Linked DNA regions of Homo sapiens: region 2 is linked to region 1. Evidence: promoter capture Hi-C in 16 types of primary human blood cells and fetal thymus (Javierre and others, 2016). All regions are on one chromosome and are shown on one strand. The core of a region is centred on a gene start or on the middle of the fragment in contact, and the rest is flanking DNA. Distances in the headings are between cores, read along the strand shown.

The links. Contacts are between HindIII fragments. The CHiCAGO score rates a contact against its expected background, and 5 or more counts as called.
Region 2: a fragment that was not itself captured here is called in contact with the fragment with the promoter of ORC2 in region 1 in 1 of 17 cell types (total CD8 T cells); the score reaches 7.9 in total CD8 T cells.

Annotation. Positions count from the first base shown.
Region 1 is chr2:200,961,911-200,965,160 of GRCh38, reverse strand. ORC2 (origin recognition complex subunit 2) reads left to right here and starts at 1,501. Exons shown (of 18, transcript NM_006190.5): 1 at 1,501-1,671. It overlaps LOC105373835 (a long non-coding RNA gene), which reads right to left and starts at 1,729. Exons shown (of 3, transcript NR_187976.1): 1 at 1,531-1,729. RefSeq lists a silencer at 1,092-1,490 and an enhancer at 2,199-2,268. The HindIII fragment of the contact is 10,169 bases long and covers 1-3,250 here.
Region 2 is chr2:202,284,938-202,288,187 of GRCh38, reverse strand. NOP58 (NOP58 ribonucleoprotein) reads right to left here. Exons shown (of 15, transcript NM_015934.5): 6 at 464-528. Among named protein-coding and RNA genes, the nearest start is that of SNORD11B, 4.8 kb to the left of the region's middle. The HindIII fragment of the contact is 1,283 bases long and covers 1,166-2,448 here.

The DNA.
Region 1 (3,250 bases), core at 252-2,751:
AAAATGGAATAATGAGGTATCAAGGCTATGATCATTTCTTTCTCAACTGGATTTCCTAAACAGCTCCCAAATCTTGTGACTCTATATCTTCCCTCCCAATCCTACCTCCTTTATCCAAAGATCTTTCAATACAAATCTGACCAGTGCCCTAAGGGCCAACTAAGCCCTTCATAATAACAGACCCAATGCTTGGCATTTTACACAGCTGTTACACGGATTTGGACCTTCTACCTGGAAAATTTTACCCCTCTTGGCCTGTTTTAAATCTATTCAACACAGGGGTTTCAGTTTAAACATCTCTTCCTCCTAGAAAATTGTTCCTGACTCCTTCTGGGCTTTTAATTAGCTACTCCTACCATGTGCTCCAATGCACTTCCCATATCATGGTATTTTTCTCAATATTGTCCGTTCAATATCTTCACGTGCTAGGTAACTACAGTGAATGCAGAGATCGTAGTTGTCTCGCTCGATAATGAATACTTATCTTCTGTTCGCAGAGTACTCTGTAGTTTTGTTTTGAGTAAGTGAATCCAAATGAAACAATACCCTGTTCTTAATACTGTATGGATCCCATCCAGGTTCATTCCTTTTCTTCCTCATTTTCTCTGTCTTGTCTTTTTTATATTTTGGATAGTTGAAGTCAATCATTTTCTCTGTCTATTCATTCTATTTCCCCAGCCTCTTCATCCCACTAGCCGTCCGATCCCATCTCCATATTCAGTGCTTCTCCTAACGTCTCTTCTTCTCCCTACCCCAAACCCTGGAGATGTACAAGATCCTACCTTTCACGCCAAATGAAGAAAATCTTTAAAAAAGAAATGCGAATCAATTTCCATTACCTTTTTCTTCAAAAGGTAGCTGGGAAACCAATGAACACTTTTTTTTTTTTTTTTTTTTTTTTTTGAGACGGAGTTTCGCTCTTGTTGCCCAGGCTGGAATGCAATGGCTCGATCTCGGCTCACTGCAACGTCCGCCTCCCGGGTTCAAGCGTTTCTCCTGCCTCAGCCTCCCGAGTAGCTAGTATTACAGGCATGCGCCACCACGCCCGGCTAATTTTGTATTTTTAGGAGAGACGGGGTTTCTCCATGTCGGTCAGACTGGTCTCGAGCTCCCGACCTCAGGTGATTCGCCCGCCTCGGCCTCCCAAGGTGCTGGGATTAGAGGCGTGAGACACTGCGCCCGACCCCAAAGAACACTTTTTAAAGATTGCTACAAGACAAACAGCTACCACTCAGCCAGCTACTGTGCAAACTTCCTCAGATCCAAACAACACTTCCTTTTCCCTTCCCCGGAAACGGAAAGAAGAAAGGAAAGGTAAGGCCCACAACTCAGGGCCCAAGAATCCGTTTTCCTCAGGTTTCCTGATGGGCGGGGCCGAATGGCCGGCGCCGACTGGACGGCAGAGCCGTCGCTCTTGGCCGACTCCTCTTCCTATTGGCTTCCTCGGGCACCGCCCCCTGAACAGGGCGGGAGATTCGGTGTGCCGCACGCAGGCTTCCCATCCCCCAGCTGGCCTCCGGTGCTCCTTACCTCCCCGGTGGTCGGGCGCGAATTACTGGAAATTGGCTTTTCCCGTTGGGGCCGAAGGTACCTTCCCTGCGGCGGCGACTCAGCGGGGTGTCGTTCGGCCGGCGTGACGCAGCCGGATCGGCGCCAGACGGAAACCTAGCGGTGAGTAGTGGGGTGTCGGGGCAGCCTGCCTCCCTTTTCTGCTTAGCTCGCGGCGTGTGAGGTGCGTCCAGGTGCACCCAGCCCCGCGTCGGAGCTTGGCCCCTAGCGTCCCAAGTCGCGCATCTCAGGACTTTCCCTCGGCACTTGGGGCATGGTCTTTGCGCCTCGCTGCCCCCCGCAGGCTGCCCGGGGGCTCGAGAACCCTTACTGGTGGAGCGCAGCCAACTGGCCAGAGGCTGGAGGCGCAGGCCAAAGTCCTTTAAGACTTGAGGTGAGAGGCTCACTCTGGGAGGACCTTTCGTTAGTCTGCCCCGCAGTTATAGGCCTTTTGTGCAAGGGACGCCTGATACTAACCTACCTGATTCCCAGCTTACGAAGCCCTCTGGTTGGAAAAGGAGAACTGTGAAGATGTGTAACGACAGTGGTAAAGTGCCCTGTGAGGTATGAAGAGGAAGAGATCGCGTCCCAGAACCACTGTAGCTAGAACCTTTGATGTCATCCCAGCCTGGAGGCACCAATGTGTCCTGCCAGCTAACTGATCGGTCACCTTGGAGCCATGCTTGGCTGTAAAATGTTGATAAGCCAGGCTCTTTTGGTAGAGCTTTTTAATTAAAAAGATGTTGAGACGTTACTTTTCATTTTACAATTGAAATCCTAATAGAATCATTACACTTTCCCGCAGTTAAATTGCAATCTGAAGAAAAATAGCACGGCCCTACACCGTTATATAAGGGCACTGCACGTTAAACGGACATCATCACTTATTGAGCAGTTTTTCTGTTAGATGTTGAATGAGTTAGAGATGTACAAGAGATCTGCATGGTTAAGTTGAAGTTTAAAGTAAAAATATCTCAGTGCACTGCAGTAAGGAGCTAAAAAAGAAAAAGGTTAAAGTAAAAATACCGATAATTGGGAGCATTCAGTGATGCTCTTTTATATATCAGGCACATCATTTCATTTAATCGTCAGGACTTTGGACAAAGTCACACAGTTATAAAGTATGGAGTGGAGATTGGAACTCAGGTTTCTCCAATATTAAAATTGGTGTTTAACCACTAATCTATCCAACCTTCTTTTTCAAAGGATTATGTTTTTAAAAATTACAGCAAATCTTTTATTTGTTTTCAAAGGAGAGTGTGTTGCTACCACTTGGTGCAATGCTAACACTTGGTGCTGCAGAATTGCCTTGAAGTAACTCCTTGAAAGGGGTTGGCCTATAAGCACCAAGGCAGTGCCTTGAGGGGTCATAATGGTCACTAAATATTGCATTTTATTGTGTGATTGTTAGGTTTTTTTGTTCGTTTGTTTTTCAGGAACTGTTGGAAAGCAAAGAAGGAAACGTTTCTCATGAGGTCTTTGTAGACATTTTCTTTAATTTGGTGATTTTGTACTATTTAATAAGATGCTCCAAAATTAGAAAAGGAAATGTTTGTATAAATGCACTTGGCTACAAACAAGTCTCAGGCTGCCTCTCTCCAGGCAATTCTTGTGTAGAATACCATAGGGAAATTGCCTAGGACAATACTCAGTTGCCTAGAATATTTGTTTTTAAATTTTCCTAGAAAATCTTGTCCCCACA
Region 2 (3,250 bases), core at 558-3,057, 1.3 Mb before region 1:
AAAAACCATTTAATGACACAGCAGAATACACAACTACAAAGATTGCACTTATGTTTTTAACATTTTCATGGAAAAATACAAATGAATTAATTAACGTAATGTTAATTCTGTGATTCATATAATCTCCAAATAGTCAACCTCCGCCTCCTGGGTTCAAGCAATTATCCTGCCTCAGCCTCCTGAGTAGCTGGGATTATAGGTACACGCCACCATGCACATTTAATTTTTTTTGTATTTTTAGTAAAGACAGAGTTTTGTCATGTTGGCCAAGCTGGTCTTGAACTCCTGACCTCAGGTGATCCGCCTGCCTCAGCCTCCCAAGTGCTGGGATTAAAGGCTTGAGCCACCACACCTGGCCTCCTTTCTCTTTCTCAACAGACAGAATCATAAAAGATAGTTTCAACAGTATGAAAACGCATGAAGGACAGAGCAACAAATCGGACTTTGCATGTACTATACTTACAAATTGCCTGAACAATCATTGTGTCTACTTTATCAGCGCTAAACTTCAATCTATATCGAGACAGGCTGGGAAGAAAGGGGAAAATAAATTAGCAAGATAGCATCTAGGAAAAGCATTTAAATTAACACCTTAAAGTTTTTTTTTGTTTTTGTTTTTACTCAAATCAGCCTGTAGTCAGAGCTGTAATTGGTTTTTCTAAGAAGAAAAATCAGCTAAGTAGAAATGCACCATACGAGAACAGAAAATACACATTAAAAAAAAAAACTATATGTGCTGCTACGACCTTTATTTCTGTAACATGAATGAGTTTATGTATGAATGACAAATAGGATAAGCTGTGTAATACAAAAGTCATATTGGACTGGGCGTGGTGGCTCACGCTTGTAATCCTAGCACTTTGGGAGGCCGAGGTGGGCAGATCACCTGTTAGGAGTTCGAGACCAACCTGGCCAACATGGCGAAACCCTGTCTCTACTAAAAATATAAAAATTAGCCAGGCATGGTGGGGCACGCCTGAATCTCAGCTACTCTGGAGGCTGAGGCAGGAGAATCGCTTGAACCGGGGAGGCAGAGGTTGCAGTGAGCCGAGATCACGTGCCACTGTACTCCAGCCTGGGCAACAAAGCAAGACTCCGCCTCAAAAAAAAAAAAAAAAAAAAAGCCATATTGGTTCATGCAATTTTTAATAGCACATATTAAGCTTTATACTACCAGTTAGGAACTTTGCAGGACTCTTAACATCTGAAAACAGAAAGCTGTGGAGTAACAATATTGTCTGTATAAAAATGTTTTTTCATCTCAGCACAATTAATATTTTGGGCCTAATTCCTTGTTGTACAGGCTGCCCTGTGCATTATAGGACCTTTAGCAGTATCCCTAACTTTTATCCACCAGATACTCATGGCAGACCCCAACCCACCTCCAATTGTGACAACCAAAAATGTCTATGGACATAGACAAATGCCTACTGGGGGGACATCTGATTGCCCTTGATAGGGAACCACTGCTATACACAATGCAGATTTACCCAGGTTTGGATTTTTGACTCAGTTTCACTATTTGTTCTCTCTTAGAAATGCTTATTACAAAGCTCTCCCTAACCTTTGTGCATTTTTGCTCTTAACTCTAGCTTAGCAGCTTCAACCCTTTCAATCTATGCCCACCTTTTAATTTTAAAATAGACCTTTTTAAATTGTAGTGTTTCTTTTTTGTTTTGTTTTGAGACGGAGTCTTACTCTGTCACCCAGGCTGGAGTGCAGTGGAGCAATCTCCACTCACTGCAAGCTCCACCTCCCGGGTTCACGCCATTCTCCTGCCTCAGCCTCCCGAGTAGCTGGGACTACAGGCGCCCGCCACCATGCCTGGCTAATTTTTTTGTATTTTTAGTAGAGACGGGGTTTCACTGTGTTAACCAGGATGGTCTCGATCTCCTGACCTCATGATTCACCTGCCTCAGCCTCGCAAAGTGCTGGGATGTATTACAGGCGTGAGCCACTGCGCCTGGCCTATAGTGTTTCTTTCTCCCTTTTTTTTTTTTTTTTTTGAGATGGAGTCTCACTCTGTCACCCAGGCTGGACTGCAGTGGAGCGATCTCCACTCACTGCAAGCTCTGCCTCCCGGGTTCACGCCATTCTCCTGCCTCAGCCTCCCAAGTAGCTGGGACTACAGGCGCCCGCCACTGTGCCCGGCTAATTTTTTGTATTTTTAGTAGAGACGAGGTTTCACCGTGGTCTCGATCTCCTGACCTTGTGATCTGCCTGCCTTGGCCTCCCAAAGTGTTGGGATTACAGGCGTGAGCCACCGTGCCCAGCCTGTAGTGTTTCTTTTAATATTAGCTTAAAATGTCTTTTGAACTGTGGTAATAATTTTATTAGGATTACTATTTGACAGTACTGATTACAAAGTTGCACAGGTTTTGAGCAACTACCTACCATTATTTTCTTCACAACCCTGTTAACTGTAGTGCAATTCCAAAGTATTAAGCTTTTCATGAACAGATGTATCACAACATAGCAATAATGCCTATTCTAAGGGACTTCTAATGAAATATGATAGGGTTAACATGCAATTAAAAATAGGGAGAAGACTGGGCATGGTGGCTCACCCCTGCAGTCGCGGCACTTTGGGAGGCTAAGGCAAGTGGATCACTTGAGCCTGGGAGTTCCAGCCTGGGCAGCATGGCAAAACCCCGTCTCTACAAAAAGTTAAAAAATCAGCCAGGGATGGTGGCGCACACTTGCAGTCCCAGCTACTTGGGAGGCTGAGGTGGCATTGTTTGAGTCCAGGATGTCCAGGTTGCAGTGAGCCAAGATCGCACCACTGCACCCCAGCCTGAGCAACAGAGTGAGACCCTGACTCAAAAAAAAAAAAAAAAAAAAAAAAATGCCGGGTGTGGTGGCTCATGCCTATAATCCCAGCACTTTGGAAGGCCAAGGCGGATGGATCATTTGAGGTCAGGAGTTCAAGATCAGCCAGGCCAACATGGTGAAAGCCCGTCTCTACTAAAAATACAAAAATTAGTTGGGCAGTAGTGGTGCACGCTTGTAATCCTAGCTACTCGGAGGCTGAGGCAAGAAAATCACTTGAGCCTGGGAGGCAGGGGCTGCAGTGAGCAGAGATCACGCCACTGCACTCCAGTCTGGGCGACAGAGTGAGAATCTGCCTCAAAAAAAACAAAACAAAAACAAAACAAACAAAAAAACACAGAGAGAGACATATTTCTTGCTATGTTGCTCAGGCTAGTCTCAAACTCCTGGTCTCCCAAAGAGTTGGGATTACAGGGGTGAG